Linked DNA regions of Homo sapiens: all the other regions are linked to region 1. Evidence: promoter capture Hi-C in 16 types of primary human blood cells and fetal thymus (Javierre and others, 2016). All regions are on one chromosome and are shown on one strand. The core of a region is centred on a gene start or on the middle of the fragment in contact, and the rest is flanking DNA. Distances in the headings are between cores, read along the strand shown.

Region 1 (5,122 bases), core at 1,563-4,062:
ACCCACCTCGGCCTCCCAAAGTGCTGGGATTACCGGCATGAGCCACCGTGCCTAGCGTATCTCTAGTATCTTTAAGGGAAAATTTTCCAATCAACATATTAAAAAGTATTCCTTTTTCATTGACTAATTGAGTGGTTTTAAAAAATTTCCCCATCAGCTTCCAACTCACTCACCTGAAAACAGATCTCTTTTCACTTCCCTTTTCCCCAGCCAGGGTTCTTTCCCTTGCTCCAATAAGGAAACCACATCTGGCTTAGAAATGGAAAGACCTGCTTGCAGAAAATGAAATAAATTCAAGATCAGTCATTGAATCCTAAGAGGGGCCACAAAGGAAATGTCAGATGTAAGTTTTTAAAATGTCTAAAAATAAGGTGCAGTTACGTCCCCATCTTAAAACTAATTTTAAGAAACCCCATACCTCTCTTGGGAATATTCAGCCAGATAATTATAACAGCCACCCTAACGGTCAAATTTTGCCTTGAGGGAGATGAAGAAGAATACTTACCCAGTGAGACCAGATGGCCATAGTTCTCCAACATTACACATCTGTACAAATCTCTTTGAGCAGGCTGAAGCCATTTCCACTCCTCCTGGGAGAAGTCTATGGCCACATCTCTGAATGTCACTGACCCCTGAAATGACGGACAGATATTTGCATGACCAGCACGCATGCCCCCAAACTCCCTCATCAAGGAATAAAATGAGTCTCACTGTGGAGGTTAGGCAATGTGTCTAAGTAGTAACAGTGAGAGTTTTCAGAATTCTGAGTAATTATATAATGAAGAGCCTAGCTCTTGTGTTTTGTTGTATAACTGGAGAAAAGGAGAAAAACATAAATTATCTGTCCTGAGATAATTTACAATTTTATTCAAAATAAAGGATTATACACATGAACAATATGGATTTTTGGCATTGGTTGTAAAAATTCTTAAGATTTTACAGTATTCCTTTATGTTAATAAACAATGTATATTTTCCTTAATACCAGCCTATTTTAATATAATTCAGCCAGAATTTCTTCAGGGTAATAATTCGCTACAGCAGATAACAGCACCACCCTTCAAATGGGGCATACAGTCTCAAGTTTGTCACAGTTATCCCTAATCCTAAAGAAATACCTGTGAAACTTAGTGGTAATTTTAGCAATGTCACAGAACAAGGAGGATAAGCAATAAAGAATCTTGATTCCGCAAGAAGAGAATGTAATACCTCCCAGGACAGAACCTAAAGCACTTTCCCTCAGAGTTAGGGGGAATAATATATAAGCCCTTGCTTTGCAGCCTGGTTTTGCACCACTTGAGTGATCCACATTGATCTATAAGGCATGAATGGGAATTTAAAATGTCTCAAACTAGTAGCAGTCCCAGATGGATGGCAGTTATAATTTACAGTTTTGAAGTTTAATAAAAAAGTGATTAAAGACTGTTGACTAATAAAGCAGCTGTTTCCTACACAGCAAGATCTGCAGCAGAGGTGGAAATTGGATTCCCCAGCAAAACTCAGAGAACCTCTGAATTTGGAGAGAAGTATGACAAAAAGTAGGATAAAGAAGTGGAACTGAAATGAGGGACTCATTTTGAATAGTTGACCCTGTTATCCCCACTGCTGTGAAGCACAATTACCAGCCAAGCCCTTAGGCCAAATCAAAATAAAAATGTGTTCCTTATGTCATGTCTGAAAAATGAGCTCTGAGGATTCGGAGATTTTGTTTTGGTCACTTCTGCATCCTCAAGACTTAGAATGAGTTGCACATTAGAATCACTTGGAAGGACTGTTAGACTGCTGGGCCAAATTCTCAGTTTCTGATTCAGAAGGTCTGGGGTAGGACTCAAGAATATTCATTTCTAATACGTTCTCAGATGATGCTGATACTGCTGGTCCAAGGATCACACTGTGGGAACCACTGAAAGTAGAGGTTCAGTAAAAACATATTGAATAAATGAATAAAGGGGCGCTGGAGTAACGTAAAGCACTCCTCATTCTAACACTGTGGGAAAGAGGAGGCGATGTAACAGCTGGCACCCTACCCTCTCACCCTAAAACATGCCAGCCAGGTCAGAAACCCCGCCCACATCTGGATAGCTTCCTGTCACTCTCTTCATGTATACTTAAGTATAAGCACCTGAAAAGGAGGAACAAGGGACAGGGTCCTGGGGTTCTGCCAGGCAGGTGGTTGTAGGAGAAAGAAAGCCACGTCCCAAGTCCTGAAAAACACGGCTGCACTTCACAAAGAAAAGCGGAAACAGGCCAAGTGGGTTGGCTCACTTGAGGCCAAGAGTTTGAGGTTACAGGATGCTATGATCGCTCCACTGCCTGGGCGACAGGAGGAGACCCTGTCTCTCTCTTAAAAAAAAAATAAAAATTTATATATATATATATATATATATTTATCAATCATTAGCTTACCTGAGACATAGCTCACAGAAGGGAAGGAGGAGATCAGAAAAGTGTAAAATGGCAGACCTGGCAGAGAGAGAAAGGAGCCCTGAGCGAACAGGCCAGCTAGGCCGCGCCCAAGTCACTAGATTCCCGCACTGGGGATTCCCGTGGCCCCCGCTCCGCGCCTCCCACGTAGAGAGCAGGGCGCCCTGAGAGATCGCGCTTGGACCACTGGCGCCGGCTTTCTCTTCCTGCCACGGCGCGCCTCCCCAGAACCCCCTCACCTAACAGTGGCCACAGAAGGATGCGTTTCCGTGGTGCTTTCCGCCAGGTGGGCGTAGCGTTCCAGGGCTCCGGACCGAGTCACCGCCCGGGGCCATCCGGCGCAGACCGGGAGGGCTCCTTTCGTTGCCTACAGCCAACACAGGCCAGACGCTCGGCGCCGCCCCCCAGGGCCCCTCCGCGGGCGTCGCAGGAATTGCGTCTTCAGAAGCCTCGCCGACGTCACCCCAACCAGGCCGCCGGCCTCAAGAAACTACAATTCCCAGAAACCAATGCGGCCCTGCGCGCAAGGGCTTTTCGTTCCTACTGGAACTCCCAGAGCGCCTCGCTGCCGTGCCCAGAACGCCAGGAGACAAAGAACGAGGGCCTGCGACAACTACAATTCCCAGAGCCATCGCGGCCCGGTGCGCCAGAGCATAGGGGCTATCCTCCCACGCCCAGAGCCGAGAAACAAAGAACCCGGGTCCTAGGCAACTACATTTCCCAGAAATAACCGCGGCCCCCCGCGGAAGAGTACACAGACCTTTGTGTTCCTATAACTGCCAGAGTGTCTCGCGGCCAAGCGCACAACTAGCGGAGAAACGAAGAACGTGGAACTCAGGCCACCACACTTCCCAGAAACAACCGCGACCCCGCGCGAGAGAGCATATGGCTTTCCCCGCCCCACTGCAACTCCCAGGGTGCTTTGAGGCCAAGCGCACATCATCGAAAGACAAAGAACACGAGCTTCAGGCAACTACACTTCCCAGAACCTCTAGCGACCGTGCGCAAAAGAGCGGAGGACGTTCTTCCCCTACTACGACTCCCAGAGTGCATCGTGGCCACGCCCAAAGCCGGAAGACAACGCAGAGCTCTGGCGACTACATTCCCCCAAACTCCTGCGCCGCACGCCAGAGGGTATAGGGTTTTCCTCCCCTACTACGACTCCCACAGTGCTTCGCTGGCGTGCACACACGGCCCAGAGACAAGGAACTGGAGACTCAGGTGACTACACTTCCCAGAACACACCGCGGCCCAGCAAGAGCCCAAGACCGCCTCTATTAAACAACTAGGATTCTTAACAACGACTGTGGAGTCAGTACTTCAGTCTAAGACCTTTTGCTACTGGAAAGGGGTCCGGATCTCAGACTCTAAGAGAGGGTTCTTGGATCTTGCACAAGAAAGAATTTGAGGCGAATCCATAAGGTGAAAGCAAGTTTATTAGGAAAGTAAAGGAATAAAGAATGGCTAATCCATAGGCAGGGCAGCCCCGAGGGCTGCTGGTTGCGCATTTTTGTGGTTATTTCTTGATGATATGCTAAACAAGGGGTGGATTATTCATGCATCCTCTTTTTAGACCATATAGGGTAACTTCCTGACGTTGCCATAGCCACTGGTGGGCAGTGAGGACAATCAGGTCGTTCTCATCGCTATCTCGGTTTTAGTCGGCTTCTTTACTGCAACCTGTTTTATCAGCAAGGTCTTTATGACCTGTATCTTGTGCCAGCCTCATGTCTCATCCTGTGACTACGAATGCCTTAACCTCCAGGGAATGCTGCCCAGCAGGTCTCAGCCTTATTTTAACCAGCCCCTACTCAAGATAGAGTTGCCCTGGTTCAACCGCCTCTGACAGTGGAAGACGTAGCAATGAGGACAGCCAGAAGTCACTCTCATTGCCATCTTGGTTTTGGTGGGTTTTAGCCGGCTTCTTTACTGTAAACTTTTATCAGCAAGGTCTTTATGACCTGTGTCTCATGCTGACCTGCTGTCTCATACTGTGAGTTAGAATGCCTAACGGTCTTGGAACGCAGCCCAGTATGCCTCAGCCTTATTTTACCCAGTTCTTATTTAAGATGGAGTTGCCGGGTGCTGTGGCTCATGCCTGTAATCCCAGCACTTTGGGAGGCTAAGGCGGGCAGATCACCTGAGGTCAGGAGTTTGCAATCAGCCTGGCCAACAGGCCAGAGTGTAACCTCGTCTCTACTAAAAATACAAAAATTACCTGGGCATGGTGGTGGGTGCCTGTATTCCCAGCTACTTGGGAAGCTGAGGCAGGAGAATCACTTGAACCTGGGAGGTGGAGCTTGCAGTGAGCCAAGTTGGCGCTACTGCACTCCAGCCTGGGCGACAGAGTGAGGCTCCATCTCAAAAAATAAAAATAAAAAAAAAATACAGGCCGGGCGTGGTGGCTCACGCATGTAATCCCAGCACTTTGGGAGACTGTGGCCAGCGAATCACAAGGTCAGAAGTTTGAGACCAGCCTGACAAACATGGTGAAACCCCATCTCTACTAAAAATACAAAAACTAGCTGGGCGTGGTGGTGCACGCCTATAATCCCAGCTACTCCGGAGGCTGAGACAGGAGAATTGCTTGAACCTGGGAGGCGAAGGTTGTAGTGAGCTGAGATCGCGCTATTGCACTCCAGCCTGGGCGAAAGAGCGAGACTGTGTCAAAAAAAAAAAAAGAGCAAAACAACAACAAC
Region 2 (5,122 bases), core at 1,101-3,600, 110 kb before region 1:
CTGGGATCACAGACATGTGCCACTGCACCTGGCACATGGTTCCTGTAAAAAATTTAGCCTGTTGAACATGATCAGGCATTCTTAAGCTTGAAGATTATTTAAACATGATTCGAGACCATATTAAATATGGTTCCTGGCTGTGGTCCAAAGGCAATCACTGGGAACCCAAATATACACCAAGAGAATTGAGATTCTGAAGCTACAGAAAAGCCATTTCCCCAACGACCATCTCGAGTTTAATCACAGATGATGACGGAAAAGGAAATTATGCTTGGAGAGCAGAAACAAAGGTTCACCAGGTAACTTATTTCACTGCCACAGAAAGAAATTGTGACAAGGCCAACAGTGTAAACCAGTGGCTACCATGTGGTGTTCACTGCTGCTGCCCTCCTGGAACTGGGGGACCCTAGACTTGTCTCTATCCCTCTACATTTGGATGGCTGGATGTGTTTAATTTATCTTTAATTATAGGTCTATAGACCATAAAGAACTACTCCCCACTCTGAATGGGAACAGGATCCTAGACTTGTATTAATGTAGTACAAGAACCAACATATGGGTTGCAGCAAATATCTGAAGATGGATGGCTGGGAAGAAGGGTGTGACAGGTGCTGCCTGGCCAAGGAAGGTGAAGGCAGACAGTGCTGCTTACCCAGTGGTTCTTCTGCCCTGTTCCTGGCTGGCAGTAACCTGATTTTTTTCCACCCCCATCTAGGTGATGTGCTTCAGTCAGGGAAGTGAAGACCCATTTCTATCCCCAGTCCCGCTTCCAAAAGGTAAAGCATAATTTATCTGAGCCAACGGAGATAGCCCCATTTCCCTTTCCAGAGCCTCCCTCAGACAGGGGCATGTGACAAAAATTTAGCCTGTTGAACATGATCAGTCTGCTTGGGACTTCCTGGGATGAGTTTTCCTGTCTGACAGACTCGTGTGTGAAGAAACAGCCCTTTTTATTTCATTGGCCACTGGTATATCCACAGGCATCAACTAGAACTGCAAGAGCCATCTGAGGGCCATTAAAGAAGGTAACCTAAGGAAAATGTCAACATACCTAGATGGGCCCTTGGCGATTGAGTGAGTCAATCACTTAGTTGATCCTGGAGCTGCCCCACTTCAGGACCTTTTGTGATGTGTAATAATAAATCACTTCTGCTTAAATTAGTTGGTCTGGGATTGACCAACAACTGCAGCTGAAACAATCCTAGTAATGCAAGGACTAACTGTTGATTTATGCTGTCATGCTAGTGATAGAATAAATGGGGTATTCAGGGAAATATATCTGACAGTAACATCGAAGATGAATTAATATAAAAAGAGTACAATGAATAAATTTAGCTAAATACAACAATCCAGACATGACAATACTGGCCTCGTTTTGAGTGGGAATTGAGACGATGAGGGTTTTAAAAGACCTCTTTTTAAAGGAACAAAATGCTAACAACACTGTACCAAAATTAGTAAGGGAGCCCTGCACAGAAAGGAAATTCAAGCTGACTTCCCCAGTGTTAGGAAAAAAAACTTAGAATTTAAAAAACAGGATAAACAAAGAGAAGAAAGATGAAAAGAAGGTGGTATGTAGGTGGAGCAGTGGGAGAGACGATTCCAGTTTCTGAAAACGAGGCCAGGGAGTGGTATGAGGGAGATGCCAGTGAATCAATCAAAACCAGGACCAAAGGGCAGATAAAAGATCAGTATGGCTATCAATTACCAGTAGAGGAAAAGAGCTTCAATCTTCCGAATGGAAGTTATTAAGGTTTGAATGTGTCCCCTCTAAAACTCATGTTGAAACTTACTCCCCATTGTGGTGGTATTAAGAGAAGATTAAGTTGTGCCCTCATGAATGGATTAGTCGTTTCTAAAAGGGCTTGAGGGAATGATCTTAGGCCTTTTTTGCCCCTCTTTCTGTCCCACAGTGTTCCTCACCTCCAGAGGATGCAGCAACAAGGCGTCATCTTGGAAGCACAGAGCAGGCCCTCACCAGACACCAAACCTGCCAGCACCTTGGCTTTGGACTTTCCAGCCTTCAAAACTGTGAGAAATAAATTTCTGTGCTTTATAAAATTACCTAGTCTATAGTATTTTATTACAGCAACACAAATAGACTGAGACAGAAGTCTTCTTTTTTTGAGATGAGATCTCACTATCACCCAGGCCAGAGTCTAGTGGCACAACCATAGTTCACTGCAGCATCAAATTCATGGGCTCAAGCAATCCTCCCACCTCAGCCTCCCAAGGAGCTGGGACAACAGGTGCACACCACCATGCTCAGCTAATGCGTAAGTCTTTTAAAAGTTACACTATATGAGGGAAATGAAGAATAAAGACCCCTTGGATTCAGAAGAGCAAGAGAAGCCCAGTGGAACATGAAGGGAAAAAGTGCTCGGTCATGCAGCAGAAGAGCAGGATCAACAGGTGTCACTGCAGGATCATGGACACTATCACATGACAAAGGAATGTGCTCAGAAGGTATAGAGTGATAATGTTAAAGCCATTAGCAAGGCCAGGCATGGTGCCTGACACCTGTAATCCTAGCACTTTGGGAGGCCGAGGTGGGCGGATCACAAAGTCAGGAGATCGAGACCATCCTGTCTAATGTGGTGAAACCCTGTATCTACAAAAAATACAAGAAATTAGCCGGGCGTGGTGGCAGGTGCCTGTAGTCCCAGCTACTTGGAAGGCTGAAGCAGGAGACCCGGGAGGCAGAGCTTGCAGTGAGCCGAGATTGCACCCCTGCACTCCAGCCTGGGCGACAGAATGAGACTCCGTCTCAAAAAAAAAAATCCATTAGCATAGAGAAGCACAAAAGGGGTAGAATCTACTAACAGGTTTCAAAAAGAAGGAAGATGGGACTGTGGTTGTTGAATTTATGTGTAAGGGATTTAAATGTAATTTTCAAAATGTAGAAAGGAAAGGGAAGGATCATGAGAGTCACATCAAGTGAAGGAAAGAGGAAAGGCTTGCTAAAATGCACAATGAAATGAGTCTATCACCAAGATAGAGTAAGGAGGGAAATAAGGGTGCCAACGAGAAGATTAAGAGTGGATGGTAAGGCCGGGCACGCTGGCTCACGCCTGTAATCCCAGCACTTTAGGAGACTAAGGCAGGCGGATCACCTGAGGTCAGGAGTTCGAGACTAGACTGGCCAACACGGCAAAACCCCATCTCTACTAAAAATACAAAAATTGGCCGGGCATGGTGGCGCACAACTGTAACCCCAGCTACTCAGGAGGCTGACACGGAAGAATTGCTTGAACCCAGGAGGCAGAGGATGCAGCGAGCCGAGATCACGCCACTGCACCCCAGCCTGGGCAACAAAGTGAAACTCTGTCTCAAAAAAAAAAAAAAAAAAGTGCATGGTAATACACGAGGCAAAGTACAAACAAGAGGAGCACATCACATTGGAATTCATGCTAATTCTAAATAAAGAAGAAAAGATTTGTCTCCATCACTCACTTGGACAGGTCTGATTTGGAACTTGGGCCTGCACCATACACAGCTCTTCTCCTTGTTCCAACTTGAAGATGATATCAGGTTTGGTGTGTTGGTACCCTATAAATAGAAAAATCACAGACAACCTGGAACAAACAGCTTGAGATTCAGAGATTCTGAAGAACGGGAAAGATTTGGTTTGGAGGTAGCATGATGAAGCTGCCTTTTTGCAATTTGGCAAAGTAAAGACCATTCAACTGGCATACTCTGCTGCCAATAGGGAACTAAGAAAATCTGGCCTTAAAATCTAAGTCCAAAATCACTAAGTATTTCATAGAAGCCCTCCAGTTTTCAGCAACCAAGAAGAAGCCTGGAGATCGAGCACACTCCTCCTCAGGGAGGCAGCACTTACCTAGGGACACCAGGTTGCTATAGTTCTCCAACATCACACTCCTGTACAGGCACTTCTGTGCTGGGTCTAGCAGCTGCCACTCCTCCCAGGTAAAATCCACAAACACATCCATGAATGACAAAGGTCCCTGAAATACAATATGCTCATCCAATTTCAAGTTATTTTACTAGGTTTGTGGAAAACTAGCTGTTTAGGGTGTCCATTATTTATGTTTAACTTTGTGAGAACAAAAATTGTATTGAAAACATCCATCAATGTGCATTAAATCAGTCATCTTTCTTTCTTTTTTTTTTTTTGTTGAGACAGAGTCTCACTCTGCTGCCCAGGATGGAGTGCAGTGGTGTGATCTTGGCTCACTGCAAGGTATACCTCCTGGGTTCACGCCATTCTCCTGCCTCAGCCTCCCGAGTAGCTGGGACTACAGGCACCCACCACCAAGTCCGGCTGATTTTTTTGTATTTTTAGTAGAGACGGGGTTTCACTGTGTTAGCCAGGATGGTCTCGATCTCCTGACTTTGTGATCTGCCCATCTCGGCCTCCCAAAGTGCTAGGATTACAGGCGTGAGCCACCGCGCCCGGCCTCTTTACAGTTTTAAGCTATCCTAGAAACCACCTATACAAGAGTGCTCAGATATGGGACCTTCAGTACTAAAGGCAGGACAGTCAGGCAAACAAGTTCGACTGATCACTCCTACATCTGCAATACAGTTACCAACCTCTATGTCCAGGAATATAAACATAAATGAAATACAGTCCTGCCACCAAGAAGCTTTTAGCACTGCAGAATGAAGAACAGTTACATATGCAAATGCAACTGAAAGTCAAAGAAGCTAAGAAAAAAGAACACAGATTACAACGTAGGCACAAAGGAAGAAGGAAGCAATGCTATTTGACAGTGTCAGGTGAAATCTGTGAAAGGGCACTATTGGTACCCAGAAGAGAAGACACATTAAAACTTTATGGACTAAAAAGGTAACTGCTGTAAGTAGCAGCCACTCTGTGGGATAAAGACCTAAACATGAAAATATACAGATGGTAAATGAGCATACAAAGCATGCTCAATACCATATGTCATTAGGGAATTGCAAATCCAGACAAAAGTAAGACACCACTACACACCTATTAGAATGGATAAAATCCAAAAAACTGACCACCAAATGCTGGAGAGGATGTGGAGCAATAGGAACTCTTATTCATTGCTGGTGGGAATGAAAAGTGGTAGAGTCACTTTGGAAGCCAGTTTGGCAACTTCTTACAAATCTAAACAGTCTTACCATATAA
Region 3 (5,122 bases), core at 1,625-4,124, 94 kb before region 1:
GAGAGTTTTCACCTCTTTGGTTAAATGTATTCTGAGGTGAGCTTTTTGTAGCTATTAAAAGTAGAATTGCCTTCTTGATTTTGTTCTTAGCTAGATGTTGTTAGGGTACAGAAATGCTACTGATTTTTTGTTTTGATTTTGAATACTGAAGCTTTCCTGAATTCATTTATCAAATCTAATACTTTTTCAGTGGCATCTTTAGGTTTTTCTAGATATAAGATTATATCATTTGCAAACAGGGACAATTTGACTTCCTGTTTTCCAATTCAGATGCCTTTTATTTCTCTTGCCTGATTGCTCTGGCTAGAACTTGCAGTACTATGTTAAATAGCAGTAGTGTAAGTGGGCATTCTTGTCTTGTTCCAGTTCTTGGAATGTTTTCAACTTTTCTCTCATCAGTATGATGTTGGCTGTGAATTTGTCATATGTGGCCTTTACTATTTTTTAGTATGTTCCTTCTATGCCTAGTTTCTTGAGGATTTTTATCATGAAGGGATGCTGAATTTTATTAAATGTTTTCTCTGCATCTATTGAGATGATCGTGTGGGTTTTGTCCTTAATTAGGTTTATGCAGTGCATCACATTTGCTGATTTGTGTATGTTGAACCATCCCTGCATCCCTAGTATAACACTCACTTGATCATGTGTATTATCATTTTCATGTGCTGTTAAATTCAGCTTGCTAGTATATAGTTAAGGATTTTTGCATCTGTGTTCTTGAGGGATATTGGTCTATAGTTTTCTTTTTTTTGTTGTGTCCTTGGTTTAGGAATCAGGGTAACATAGGGCCTTGTAGAATGAGGTAGGAAGAATAATTCCCTCCTCCTCAATTTTTTGAAACAGCTTTAGGGGAATTGGTATTAGTTCTTTGTACATTTGGTAGAATTCGGCTGTGAATCGATTTCACCCTAGGCTTTTTTGGTGGGGGAGATATTTTATTATTGATTCAATCTTGCTCCTTATTATTGGTCTGTTCAGGGTTTTTCTTTGTTCATGTTTCAATCTTGGGAGGTTGTATTTTCCAGGAATTTATCCTTATAATCTAGGTTTTATAGTTTGTTAGTATATAATTGTTCATAATGGTCTCTAATGATCTTTTGTATTTTTGTGGTATCAGTTGTAATGTCTTCTTTTTCATTTCTGATTTTGTGTATTTGGATATTCTATCCTTTTCTTGGTTAGTCTACCTAGTAGTTGTCAGTTTTAGGGTTTTTTCCTTTCAAAGAACCAATTTTTGGTTTTATTGGTCCATTATATTGTATCCATTTTTGTCTCTATTTCATTTAGTTTTACTTTGACCTTTGTTATTTATTTTCTTCTGGTAACTCTGGGTTTGGTTTGTTCTTATTTTTCTAGTTCCTTGAGAAGTAATGTTAGGTTGTTAATTTGTAATCTTTCTGCTTTTTTGATATGGGCATTTAATGCTATCCACTTCCCTCTTAGCACTGCTTTTGCTGAATCCTATAGGTTTTGATATGTTGTATTTCCATTTTCATTTGTTTCAAAAAACTTTTAAATTATAATCTTAATTTTTTCACTGACCCAGTGATCATTCAGGAGCATATAGTTAATTTCTACATATTTGTATGGTTTCGAAAGTTCCTCTTGTTGTTGATTTCTACTTTATTCCCCTGCAGTCTGAGAAGATAATTGATATGATTTTGATTTTTAAAAATTTGTTGAGACTTGCCTTGTGGCCTAACATATGGTCTATCTTGGAGAATGTTCCATGTGCTGATGGGAAAAGTGTATATTCTGCAGTTGTTGAGTAGAATATTCCATAAATATCTGTTAGGTTTGCTTGGTTTGAAGTCCAATTTAAGTCCAATGTTTCTTTGTTGATTTTCTGTCTTGATGATGTGTCTACTGCTCTGAGTGGGTGTTGAGGTCCCCCACTACTATTGTATTGCTGTCTATCTCTTTCCTTAGAACTAGAAATATTTGTTTTAGGAATATGGGTGCTCTGGTGTTGGGTGCATATACATTTAGAATTATTATATCCTCTTGCTGATTTGATCCTGTTATCATATATTGATTTTCTTTTTCTTTTTCTTTACTGATGATTTAAAGTCTGTTTTATCTGATGTATATCTATTTCTGCTCACTTTTGGTCTCCATTTGTGTGGAATATCTTTATCCACCCCTTTTTTTTTTAGTCCATATGTGTCTTTACAGGTAAAGTGAATTTCTTGTAAGCAGCATATAGTTTTATTATCTTTTAAAATTCATTCTGCAAATCTATAGCTTTTAGGTGGAGTATTTATTCCATTTACATTCAAGGCTAATATTGATATGTGAGGTTTTGTTCTTGTCATATTGTTGTTTTCTAGTTGTGTTATAAGTTTTTTATTTCTTTCTCTTTCTCTGTCTCTTTGTGCTTTGGTGGAATTCTGTTGTGTTGCCATTTGATTTATTTGTCTTCCTCCTCTGTTTAATTATTTTATAAGACCTGTGAGTTTTATACATTCATGTATTTTTATGATGGTGAATATTAGCCTTTCATTCCCATAGTTAGGACTCTTGAGCATTTCTTATAGAACCAGTGTAGTGGTGACAAATTCCTTCAGTGTTTGCTTGTCTGGGAGGGGCTTTATTTCTACTTCATTTATGAAGCTTAATGTTGCTGGATATAAAATTCTTGGCTAAGTTTTTTTCTTTTAGCACTTTGAAAATGCCACCCCATTCTGCTCTGTCCTGTAAGGTTTCTGCTGAGAAGTTCACTGTTAGTCTGATGGGGTTTTCTTTGTAAGTGACTAGGCGCTTTTCTCTTGCTGATTTTAAAATTAGTTCCTTCTACTTTGATTTTAAGCAGTCTGAAATTGTATGCTGTGTTGAAATCTTTTTTGCAATAAATTTTCTGAGGATTGCTGGACCTCCAGTATCTGAATGTCCAAATCTCTGGTTAAACTTTGTAAGTTTTCGTCGATTATTTATTTCAATAGATTTTCTACCCTTTTTTATTTTTCTTTCCCCTCAGATGACAGTAATTCATAAGTTCAGTCACTTTATGTCGCCCTAAATGTCTTGAGGGTTTTGTTCATTCTTTTATTTATTTTTAAATTTTTGTCTGACTGGATTACTTCAGAAGAATTGTCTTCTTTCTTCTGCTTAATCTAGTCTATTGTTGAAGCTTTCAAATGTATTTTGTAATTCCTTCAATGAAATTTTCAGATCAATAATTTGTTAGGTTTTTTTTTCAAAGGTATCTTATCTTCTTGGTAAATTTCACATTTATATCCTAAACTGATTTTCTGATTTCTTTGCATAAGTTTTCAGATTTCTCTTGCATCTTATTGACCATCTTTAAAATCAATATTTTGAATACTATATCTGGCATTTCAAGACTTTCTTTTTGGTTAAGATGTATTGCTGGAGAATTATTACGTTCCTTTCAGGGTATCATAATATCTTGCTTTTTCATGTCTCCTATACCTTTACACTGATTTCTGCACATATGAAGCAATAGTTGCTTCTTTTACTTTTGAATTTACTTTTGTTGGGGGGACACTTTTTTCTTAATGATGTGACTATGATGTTGGTCGGGTAGAGCCATTTTACTTTGCTTCTAGGTATTTACAGTGGCAAAGTCTGTATTATTTCATTGGCTACAAATACCCTCGGTGTAGTGCCTTTCTCAAATGATGGTTGTAGTAGCAGCACACCAGGCAGGTGAATGGGCTCACAATCTCCTGGGAAACTGGGGTGGCATGGACAATGGGAGTAAGACTGCTCTGACAAGTTATTGTATTAGTCCGTTCTCACATTGCTATAAAGAAATACATGGCTGGGCCGGTGGCTCAAGCCTGTAATCCCAGCACTTTGGGAGGCCAAGGTGGGCAATCACGAGGTCAGGAGATCAAGACCATCCTGACTAACATTGTGAAACCCCATCTCTACTAAAGCCACAAAATATTAACCAGGCGTGGTGCCACATGCCTGTAGTCCCACCTACTTAGGAGGCTGAGGCAGGACAACTGATTGAACCTGGGAGGCAGAGGTTGCAGTGAGCCGAGATCGCGCCACTGCACTCCAGCCTGGGTGACAGAGCGAGACTCCATTTCAAAATAAATAAAGAAATAAAGTAGTACCCGAGACTGGGTAATTTATGAAGAAAAGAGGTTTGATTGGCTCACAGTTCCACAGACTGTACAGGAAGCATGATGCTAGCATCACTTAGCTTCTGGAGAAGCCTCAGGAAACTTACATTCACAGCAGAAAGTAAAAGGGGAGGTGGCATTTCACAAGGCCAGAACAAGAGCAAGGCAGAGTAAGGGGGGAGGTGCTACACACTTTTAAGTAGCCAGATATCATGGGAAACCACTTACTACCTCAAGGACAGCACCAAGGGGATGGTGTCAAGCCATTCATGAGAAATCTTCCCCCATGATCCAGTCACCTCCCACCAAGCCCCATCTCCAACATTGGGGATTACAAAGTAACACAATATTTGGTGGGGAAACAGATCTAAACCATACCAGTTATTCTCATTCCTAAGTGCTGTGCTCTTGTAGTAGGAGTTGTTTCAGTGGGCTGTGTGGGCCAGCATCCAGGCCAGTAGGTGGTACTTGTAGGTATGAGCTAGCTGCAGTAGTAGCCGTGGGATTTATGCCCAACCTCTGTTCCTTAGAAGAAGTACTTGGGTGTCCCAGGTGGTGGATTGGGCCATGAAACCCCCAGAGGCCAGGATCCCACACGCCCTCTCAGAGGGATGGCAAGGCTGGATAGAGCTGGACCAAGCAAGACTGCACCGAGATCACCAATGACAGGTGCATGCACTAACACTGACAGGGCTTGTGGGGCCATCCTCAGGCCCCTAGTGAAATGCCCAGCTTAGGGGCAAGTGCTCCTGTGTCAGGGGCTCAGCATGGAGAGAGTAGGGCAGTCTCAGCACTGCAGCCTTGGCAGGCAGGAGTGGGGCCTGCTTCCCTCTCACATCCCAGTCCCAGTAAGGCTCACTCCCTAACCCAGACTGTGTCCGCCAATCTGCATATTTATTCAGTCACTGCAGTTTCCTTCTATTCTGCAATGCAGCCCCAGGCAATAGGAGTCATTGCCTGGCTCAATACCATGCCTCCCCAGAAGTTCTCCCCCTGCTCCAGTCAGAAGGTGGGGACAGCCCAGT
Region 4 (5,122 bases), core at 1,678-4,177, 79 kb after region 1:
TGGGAGAGAAATAAAGTACTGAGAAAAAATAATGCTGATTCTGAAATCTTATACCAGCCAAACTAAAAAGCAAAAATAAGGGAAAATAAAAGACATTTTCAAATATACTAGCACCTGGAAAATTTATATCCATCAAATGTGGTACCTCATGCCTATAATCCCAGCATTTGGGAGGCTGAGGCGGGAGGATCACTTGAGGCCAAGAGTTTCAGACTATCCTGGGTCACATAGTTAGACCTCATCTCTACAAATAACAAAAAAATGTGTGGGCATAGTGGTGCACGCCTGTAGTCCCAGTTACTCAGGAGGCTGAGGTGGAAGGATGGTTTGAGCACAGGAGTTTGAGGCTGTAGTTGGCCATGACTATGCCACTGCACTTTACACTGGGCAACAGAACCAGACTCTGTCTCTAAAAAAAAAAAATTACACCCTATAGAGACAACATTAAGACACAGAAAGAATTGGTGGGAAGCTGGATACAACGGTGAGCACTGAAATCAGCAGAACATAAATCTATTGATTCAAACACATCTGAACTAAAATTATAATCAGCTACAATTTAAGCATGTGTGTGATGCAAATAGATGAGAATCATAAAAAATGAAGGTATAAAGAAACATCTTTCACTTGGGAAAAGAGAAAATGCAACTGTTTAGACTTTGTTTTAAAGGGAAACGTTCAGTGTGCCTGTGAACAACTTAAAGACAATCAAGCACTAAAAATGTAGGGAGGGAGCAGGGAGGAAGACAAGTACAGCTTCCCAAACAGTAGAGAAAAAACCGACTGAGAAAGAACACATTCATGTTAGAAGAAACATACTGAAAACAAAACTAAGACAGTTTGAAACTTATGAGATACACCAAAGAAAAAATACAAATTAGAAAATAAAGAAATGAAGAAAGATATCAGGTAAATGCTACATCAATGAAAGCTGATACTCACAGAATTAGCATAAATAATTGCATTTTTACATCAGTTTAACTCAAGGGACTTAAACTAAAGGCATTTCTTATTTATACATCCCAAGTAGCATGACGGTCTCACTACAGCCAACAGACTCCTCTTGCCCAGGCACCTCCACGTGGTTCACCATCCCTCCTGGCTCATCAATACTCGGGCATTATTCTTCTATGCTAGATGGCTTTTCTATAATATATAATTTCACAAATCAAAACACCTACAAAGTTGTAAGATTTATGCCCATTAGGGAGGTTGAGATGGAGACTAAACATGATTTGAAAGTAGGAACAGAGAGAATGGAGAGAAGATTTAAACATGATTATCAGTATCCTCCTCTGAGACCCATTTAAATTACATACAGGAATACAGTACACACAAACACACCTCTAAAAGAAAAGGGAGGCCAGGGGCGGTGGCTCATGCCTGTAATCCCAGCACTTTGGGAGGCCGAGGCGGCGGATCACAAGGTCACGAGATCGAGACCATCCTGGCTAACACGGTGAAACCCCGTCTCTACTAAAAATGCAAAAAATTAGCCAGGCGTGGTGGCGGGTGCCTGTAGTCCCAGCTACTCGGGAGGCTGAGGCAGGAGAATGGCGTTAACCCAGGAGGCAGAGCTTGCAGTGTGCCGAGATTGCGCCACTGCACTCCAGCTGGGCAACAGAGCGAGACTCCATCTCAAAAAAAAAAAAAAAAGAAAAGGGAACTACATAAACAGAAGCCAATATGATATTTTGATAAATTTTTAATAAACAGTAAGCCAAAAATCTGGTAACTGACTTCCGTGAGCAAAAGCTCTCCCAGAGGTAAGCTGATGCACAGCAAACCATCTCTCCCACAGAAGCCCCAAAAGCTTTGGGAACAGTCATCCTGCATGATGAGAATGAGGTGTGAACTGTAAACAGCTAAAAGCAGTATATGAATTAGGCTCCCAGGTCCCACCCACCTAGGGTCTCCAGGGTGGGTGTTACTCAGCCAACACATGACTACCTAACATGCCAGGGGTGCTAGGTACTCTTAACAAAATCCAGGCTGGGCATGGTGATTCACACCTGTAATCCCAGCACTTTGGGAGGCCAAGGCGGGTGGATCACCTGAGGTCAGGAGTTCGAGACCAGCCTGGCCAATATGGTGAGACTCTGTCTCTATTAAAAACACAAAAATTAGCCAGGCATGCTGGTGTACACCTGCAACCCCAGCTACTCAGGAGGCTGAGACAGGAGAATCGCTTGAACCCATGAGGTGGAGGTTGCAGTGAGTAGAAATCGCACCACTGCACTCCAGCCTGGGCGACACAGAAGACTACATCTCAAAACAAAAAAACAAAAAACAAACAAAAAATCCAAGCAGGTAAGGGACAGAGTCATGAGACAGAGGGAGGCACAGGTGCTGTTTCAGACACGGTGATCAGGGCAGCTCTCTGATGAGGTTATACCTAGGCAGAAATGCAAGCGCTGTGAGAAGCCACTGAAAGGCTTCTCGCTCTGACTGGTATTTTGAGATCATCCTGACTGCTGTGGAAGAGGGAGGGGGTTGTGTAAGAGGAGATACCGGGGAGACCAGTTAGAAGGCAACTGTGTTAGTCCAGTGGAAGAAGGCAGTGTAGGCCAAAGTGACAGCGATGGGGATGATAAATGGTGGCTGGATTCTGGGCATCCTGTGGGGACAGAGCCAGAACACAACCTGATAGAGACAGCATGGCACGCTGAGAGACAGAAGGGGGGCCAGGAGGACACCAAGCAGCCTGGCCAAGCAAACTACAGAACTTTCCCTTTAAGGAGGTGGAGAAGCCTGGGGATAACAAACGGAGAAAGAAGATAGTGAATAACTGGTCCATGAATGACGGAAGATGGGGGAGATCCAACCAGAAAACAGTCCACAGAAGTGAGTCACTGAAGGAGAAAAGTGACCTTGCTAAGAACACGTGAGAAGAAAGGGAAGCGGGTATCCATCCTCTCAAACAGGAGGGGCTCTAAGAAAAGGGGACTGTGCAAGTGCCCCACACACAACCTGGACATCTGCAACAGCCGACCAGGCTAAATCTGGGTAATTTTCAGAAGGAACTGACATGTACTTAAGAATTTAAGTAAACAAGGATCGAATAACTGCTTTCCTCTGAAAAATTCTGAAGGCAAAGACTGCCGCGGGACTCTCAAAAGGCAGCTGGGGAGTGAGGGTTCAGCAGCTCACCTCAAACAGGGCCCCGCCTCCCTGCGGCTCACCTCAGGCAGGGCACTGTTTCCCTGGGCCCAAGGAACACCCAGAAGATTCCCGAACTTGACACTTGAGCTCATTAGCAGGCTCCTCCTCAGCAGCACTACCTGCAGGGAGGGAGACCCCAGGGGAAGAGGCAGTGAGTGGACTTCTGGGTGAGTCTGCATGCAGTGAGAGAAAGAATCACATACACCATGGAACTGCAGGGCAGAGCCCTGTCAGAGGCTCCAACCAAGCCCCACTGATGCCTGTCATAACTCTGGGTACTGACCACCGCACAACAGGAGACTCTGTGTCTTTTTCTCTAACCACTGATTTTCCCACCCCAACCCAGAAGGAGCCCCCGTCGGAGGGCAACAAGTAAATGAAGTGGGAATACAGACAAGCCTCCTCCATCTCCCCTCTGCAGGCTAGAATGAGGGGAGGTACAAGAGCTTGGAGTGAGAGTGTGGACTGAACTTTCCCATACCTGAAAGTAACTGAGAGTCAATAACAAACAAGGCTGTGACCAGAGCATCATCAGCTCTCCTCACGACGAGCACTAGGGAAGGGCTGACAGGAAGCCTGAGGCTGTGATGAGAAAAATGAAGCCACTACTGTGCCCTTATTACGTTGAGGTGCTTATCAAGCTGGTTACTTTAAATCTGAGGGAGAAGAAACATGAAACAAGTCACTTCGATGTGACCATATTAGAAGCTGGAGGTCGACAGCAGAAGACGAAACGGAGCCCAAAGTGGCTGCTTCTGGGGACACAGGATGGAAGAGGGAAGGTGCACAGCAGATAGCAGGTAGACCAGGAGCAGCGGGTAGACCAGGAGGCTTATTGTCTATTTTATTTAAAGCCTTTTACTATTTCTTTAAGCTTGATACGAATGAAAACAGGCCAGGCATGGTAGTTCACGCCTGTAATCCCAGCACTTTGGGAGGCAGAGGTGGGTGGATCACCTGCAATCAGGAGTTCAAGACCAGCCTGGCCAACATAGTGAAACCCTATCCTACTAAAAATACAAAAATTAGGCCGGGCACAGTGGCTCACACCTGTAATCCTAGCACTTTGGGAGGCCAAGGTGGGCGGATCACGAGGTCAGGAGATCGAGACCATCCTGGCTAACATGGTGAAACCCTGTCTCTACAGAAAATACAAAAAATTAGCTGGGTGTGGTGGCGGGCGCCTGTAGTCCCAGCTACTCGGGAGGCTGAGGCAGGAGAATGGCGTGAACCCTGGAGGCGGAGCTTGCAGTGAGCCAAGATCGTGCCACTGCACTCCAGCCTGGGTGACAGAGCGAGATTCCATCTCAAAAAAAAAAAAAAAAAAAAAAAATTAGCCAGGTATGGCGGCGCATGCCTGTAGTCCCCACTACTCGGGAGGCTGAGGCAGGAGAATCGCTTGAACCCAGGAGGTGAAGGCTGCAGTGAGCGAGAACGTGCCACTACACTCCAGCCTGGGCAACAGAGCAAGACTCTAACTCAAAATAAATAAATAAATAAATAAAAGAATAAAAGTAAAATACAAAATAACTGTTAAAATTTTGAATTGACCTAGCATGATCAAAAGAAAATTTAAAAAGAAAATTTTATGACCAAGAAGCAGTCCAAAACTCTTAAGAGATTTAAAATTTCACAAGAGATTATGATAAACAGTTCTACTGTAATGGGACATATATGCTGCAAAAAATCACACCATGCAAAGTTGCATAAAAAGCCATAGGATTTATGAGAAAAATGAGGTAAAGGCATAATACTGGTGACACACAAAAAGAGAACCTAGGAGGCCAGGTGCAGTGGCTCACACCTGTAATCCCAGCACTTTCAGAGGCTGAGGTGGGCAGATCATTTGAGGTCAGGAGTTTGAGACCAGCCTGACCAACATGGTGAAACCCTGTCTCTACTAAATACAAAAAAATTAACCGGGCATGGTGACGGGAGGCTGAGGCAGGAGAATCACTTG
Region 5 (5,122 bases), core at 974-3,473, 74 kb before region 1:
TCAGTCAAAATCTCCTTATCTAACAAATCAATTCTGTTCAATTATCTGTATACTTTCAATTCTTGCCCACATGCAAATGTACTTAAAAATGGGTTAGCACTGGTAGTGGAGATGTGTTGTTTTTAATTGTACTACATTATAAGCATTTTTCTTGCTGTTAACCAAAATATGGTTTCTACCAGACACATAAAACATACCAAACACTACTAAATGTCCCAGAAGAGAGACATAGTCAAGAAAACAATGACATATTGACTGAAATATTATTTTCCATCTTTTGTTGCATTAACTGTATCATTTCTTAATTCTCAGCAACAACTCTCCCTATAGTAGCATACTCATTTCTTTTCAAATGAAGGGGTTCTCGCTCAACAACTCACCTATTTAATAATTCCTTCTCAGATTCTAGCATTTAAGACTTGGTCAAGAATGCTCTCAGGCCAATTACTTCTGTAGGAATTCATGAAAAGAAGAAAATCTGATGGATTTGTGTACTGAAATAAAATCTGTGGTTTCTTTCCCTTCCAGGACCAATTCTCTAATGTGCAATAGGATAGTAACAAGACTGAAAGCATTTCCACATAGATTCAATTTGTACAGCTTATCTCCAGGAGTTCTCCAATGCAAAATAAAGTCATTGCTCTTTGTGAAAAATTCCCATATTTATTAGTAAGCATTTTCTCTAATATGATTTGTCTGGTATCCAATAAGGTTAGAGGTATTAACAAGCGCTGTCCCACATTGATTGCATGTTAAGAACTGCTCTCCAGTGTGAGCTATTTGATGAACTATAAATGGAGAGTTCTGGCTGAAGATAATGCCACATTGATTACATTTATAGGTCTCTTCTCCAACATGAATTCTCTGGTGCTTAATGAGGTCATTCTTCCGGATGAAGGCTTTCCCACACTGACAGCATTCATATGGTTTCTCTCCAGTGTGTATCCTCTGATGCACAATAAGGGCAGAACTCTGGCTGAAAGATTTTCCACAATCATGACACTCATATGGTTTCTCTCCAGTGTGGGTTCTTTGATGTGAATAAAGGTGAGAGCTTCGACTAAAACATTTTCCACAATCCTTACACTCAAAAGGTTTTAGTCCAGTGTGAATTCTATGATGCACAACAAGGTGAGATCTCTGGCTGTAAGACTTTCCACATTCATTGCATTCATAGGGCCTCACTCTCACATGGGTTCTCTGATGCAGAATGAGATGTGTGCTCTGTCTGAAAGATTTCCCACATTCAGGACATTCATAGGGTTTCTCTCCAGTATGTGTCCTCTGGTGTCTAATAAGCCTAGAGCTATGAACAAAAGATTTCCCACACTGATTACATGTGTACAGTTTGTCTCCTGTATGAGTTCTCTGATGAGTAACAAGGTGAGAGAACCAGCTGAAGGATTTTCCACATTCTTTACATTCATAGGGTTCCTCACCAGTATGGGTCTTTTGATGTCCAATGAGGTGAGAACTCCGGCTGAAAGACTTTCCACATTCTTTACACTCATAGGGTTTTTCTCCAGTATGAATAAGCTGATGCCTAGTAAGATTAGAGCGCCAGCTGAAGAATTTTCCACATTCCTTACATTCATAGGGTTTCTCTCTATGTATGCCCTTTGATATACCAAGAGATGAACCATGAGTAAGAGAGTTGTCATTATCAGGGCATTTGTAGGATTTATCACCTGTGTGAGTTCTTGCAAACTGAATAAGGTGAATGTTTTGACAGAAAGTTTGACCACATTCATTACTGTTACTTGCACAACTGTCCTGATGACCATTAAGAACTAAATCATGTTTTAAACTTTTAGTATGTGAGTCACGTTTATGGAAATACTCTCTCAGTACTAGCTGAGCAGGAAGAAGACAGTTTCCCCCATATTTACCACTTTCAGAGACTCTCTCCTGAGTAAGTACTTTCTTTTGGGTGAATGCCACTTGCCTCAAATGTCTCTCTGGGTTTTCCTGATACTTGTCTAACTGGTCTCTACATTTCCAGACTTCTTCTAATGACAAATACCAGAGATCATTCCTTGCCATTCCTTCCATTTTAATGTCACAGGATTGCTTATCTTTAAAAATGCTCCTGCTGGAAACTGATGATTTGATTTCAAATGCAGTCTCTGAATCTGAAAGAAATGAAAAATGTTTGTGTAACTAAACAGAGTATTAAGGTGAGAATGCTAGGATGTATGTGGAGACAAAGTATGCAAGATGTACACAGTTGCTTTCAAATATGGCTTTATAACTTTGATAGAGAATGAGAAAAGGAAGAATGGAGCGGTAAACAATAAATGCATTGTGGTATACAGTACTCACAAAGGGCAAAAGGAGTAAGGAGAAGCCACAGGACACAGCATGACACATGGGATCAGGGTATCAATGGTGAGGGTAGAAATAAGGGAAATTCCATAAAAAGGACTGCACTCTCATTTTCTAATCCAGATATTAACAGTCTAAGTTCCTCACCTGTCTACTTGTTGTCAGGACTTTCCCCTGACACACATTCTTCACATTACTATCAATTTAGTATTCTCTCTCTTTTTTTTTTTTTTGAGACAGTTTCGCTCTTGTTGTCCAGGCTGGAGTGCAATGACACAATCTTGGCTCAATGCAACCTCCGCCTCCCAGGTTCAAATGATTCTCCTGCCTCAGCCTCCCAAGTAGCTGGGATTACAGGCACCTGCCACCATGCCTGGTTAATTTTTAATATTTTTAGCAGAGACAGGGTTTCACTATGTTGGCCAGGCTGGTCTTGAACTCCTGACTTCAGGTGATCCACCCGCCTTAGCCTCCCAAAGTGCTGGGATTATAGGCGTGAGCCAGTGCGTCCGGCCCAATTTAGTATTCTTAAACCATGAATGCAGCCATACGTCAGGCAATGCTTTCTATCCAAATCACAGAAGCACTATAGAATAACACCCAGATGAGTGACACAACAGACCTCTCAGAGCAGCTACATGACAAGGTGGAAGAGTAACTGCACAAAAGTTACCAAGATGCAAGTTCTAAGTTTTATATTACGACTAGTGGTGAATTTAGACGAGTTGCTAAACTTTGAAGAATTCATTTTGCTTATCTGTAATCTAAGGATGACAGTATTTGTTATTTAAGATTATTATATTATATAAAGCATGAGCCTATTACAGTCTCTGGCACATTTATGGTCAAAGCAATAAGATTTACAATAATCATCATCATTCTTCTCATTTTTTTGATTTCTTCGCTCTGAAACATAAGGACTTAACAACTGATAGGACTACTACCACAAGATGTGAACTTAGAATCTGAAGCCTGACCCATACGCTCTTAGAATTTCTGCCATCTGCTACCTGTGTATATTACTGCAAATTATTTCTCTTGAATAAGAGCTTTATCTGTTTCTCAATGTCTTTCAGGTAAAACATATAATCCCAAACCTAAAAAATACACTGATGATACCACTTCATCTTACATAAGTGGGGTGACATTCCACTCTTACCTGGTATTATGGGTTAAACTGTATCCCCCCCGCCGACAAAAAGGTATGTTGAAGTTTTAATCCTCAGTATCTCAGAATATGACCATATTTGGAAATACAGTCTTTCCAGATGTAATTAGTTATGATGAGGTAGTACCAGAAATAGGATGGGCCCCTAATCCAGTATGAGGGTGGTCCTCCATAAAAAAGACACAGACACAGGGGAAGAGACCATGTGAACATGGAGACCAAGACTGGAATGATATATCCACAAGCCAAGGAACACCTGGGGCCAGCAGAGCCTGGAAGAGATAAGGAAAGACCCTCTCCTAGAAGCGTAGCAGAGCCCCACTGACATCTTCATTTTAGACTTAACAGCCTCCAGCTGTGACATGATACATTTTGGTTGTTTTGAGCCACCTAACTGCTGGTTCTTTGTTACCGCAGCCCCAGGAAACTAATACACCTGGTAAATGATCCCTGTGCCAGGCCTGGTCCCTAAATGACTTCCTTATACAATCCCACCCCGACCAGTCCTGTCCCTTACCACTTAGTTAGTTCCTAGTTTCTTCCCCATCCTGATGATTTTTAATAGGAAATACACCACCCTTTCCTCCCTTTCCCCAACCCAGAACATCAGAAAATCTTATGGAGAAGTTTTTCAACCTACAAATGCCAACTGGAAGATTCTATGAAGAATATCTATGATAAGGGGGGTGCTGAGCACTTATGGAGGACAATTCTGAGTGGAGAGTTTGGTCATAAGAATGAGGTGTTTTATTAATATCCTAAAATCTTCCACATATTATGTAATACAACCATGCCAGTAAGTTATTGTCGAAGTCTGTTGGACCCATCAATCAACTAATCATCTGATTTTTAAAAATCATCATTCATTATATTTTTTGATTTGATAATGAATTTAACAGCCTTGTAGATTCTGTAAAACTCCATGCCTTTAAGCCCATGAAGTCTGAGTATTTCTTTTGACAATAAATTCTCAATAAAAATATAAACTGCTGGGTCCAGTTAATAATTGTTATTTTTGGATACTTGTCAACAGACATTCAGGAAAGCTTACTAGATGAACAAAATAGAAAAGAAAGAAAGAAGGTAAGTAATAAAAAGAAAATATAACAATATTTCCTCCCATGGTCCCAAAGAAAGACTTGCTTTGAGATACCATTTTGATACAATCACCTACAAGGCAAATACTAAAAAGTAAAAAAGAGCTTATGATAATATTTCAAAGTAGAGATTTAAACTAAGTGGAAGTTCAGAAGAGGAAGAGGCCAATACTTAATGAGGAATCATAAAAGCCTTCATGGGAAAGAACTTGAGGCTAAATTACAGGACAAGTAAGACTCAGATTTAATTTACATCACACTCAAAGTCTGAGATGCAGGGAAATGCCTATAAATAAATTTTTAAAACATTAAATACAAAACTAGATAGAGGCTGGGCATGGTGGCTCACGCCTGTAATCCCAGCACTTTGGAAGGCCGAGGTGGGCGGATCACTTGAGGTCAGGAGTTCGAGACCAGCCTAGCCAACATGGTAAAACCCTATCTCTCCTAAAAATACAAAAATTAGCTGGGCGTGGTGGTGCATGCCTGTAATTCCTGGTTCTTTGGGAGGCTAAGGCGGAAGAATCGCTTA

The links. Contacts are between HindIII fragments. The CHiCAGO score rates a contact against its expected background, and 5 or more counts as called.
Region 2: a contact is called between a fragment that was not itself captured here and the fragment with the promoter of ZNF140 in region 1, in 8 of 17 cell types (naive CD8 T cells, total B cells, total CD8 T cells and 5 more). The highest score is 10.5, in naive CD8 T cells.
Region 3: a contact is called between a fragment that was not itself captured here and the fragment with the promoter of ZNF140 in region 1, in 13 of 17 cell types (naive CD8 T cells, erythroblasts, total B cells and 10 more). The highest score is 8.2, in naive CD8 T cells.
Region 4: a fragment that was not itself captured here is called in contact with the fragment with the promoter of ZNF140 in region 1 in 1 of 17 cell types (non-activated CD4 T cells); the score reaches 5.1 in non-activated CD4 T cells.
Region 5: a contact is called between a fragment that was not itself captured here and the fragment with the promoter of ZNF140 in region 1, in 1 of 17 cell types (naive CD8 T cells). The highest score is 5.2, in naive CD8 T cells.

What each region holds. Positions count from the first base shown.
Region 1 is chr12:133,078,613-133,083,734 of GRCh38, reverse strand. ZNF140 (zinc finger protein 140) reads right to left here and starts at 2,812. Exons shown (of 5, transcript NM_003440.4): 1 at 2,663-2,812; 2 at 2,406-2,462; 3 at 506-632; 4 at 174-269. The coding sequence starts at 2,414. RefSeq lists enhancers at 2,824-3,023, 3,094-3,783. The HindIII fragment of the contact is 18,343 bases long and covers 1-5,122 here.
Region 2 is chr12:133,190,335-133,195,456 of GRCh38, reverse strand. It overlaps ZNF268 (zinc finger protein 268), which reads right to left. Exons shown (of 6, transcript NM_003415.3): 4 at 3,842-3,968; 5 at 3,454-3,549. Among named protein-coding and RNA genes, the nearest start is that of ZNF268, 11 kb to the right of the region's middle. The HindIII fragment of the contact is 4,524 bases long and covers 89-4,612 here.
Region 3 is chr12:133,172,595-133,177,716 of GRCh38, reverse strand. No RefSeq gene overlaps it. Among named protein-coding and RNA genes, the nearest start is that of ZNF268, 6.3 kb to the left of the region's middle. The HindIII fragment of the contact is 517 bases long and covers 2,616-3,132 here.
Region 4 is chr12:132,999,792-133,004,913 of GRCh38, reverse strand. All of the region lies in intron 1 of ZNF26 (zinc finger protein 26), which reads right to left. Among named protein-coding and RNA genes, the nearest start is that of ZNF26, 16 kb to the right of the region's middle. The HindIII fragment of the contact is 2,223 bases long and covers 1,816-4,038 here.
Region 5 is chr12:133,152,513-133,157,634 of GRCh38, reverse strand. It overlaps ZNF10 (zinc finger protein 10), which reads right to left. Exons shown (of 5, transcript NM_015394.5): 5 at 1-2,132. The coding sequence ends at 667. Among named protein-coding and RNA genes, the nearest start is that of ZNF10, 24 kb to the right of the region's middle. RefSeq lists an enhancer at 1,227-2,426. The HindIII fragment of the contact is 4,637 bases long and covers 1-4,541 here.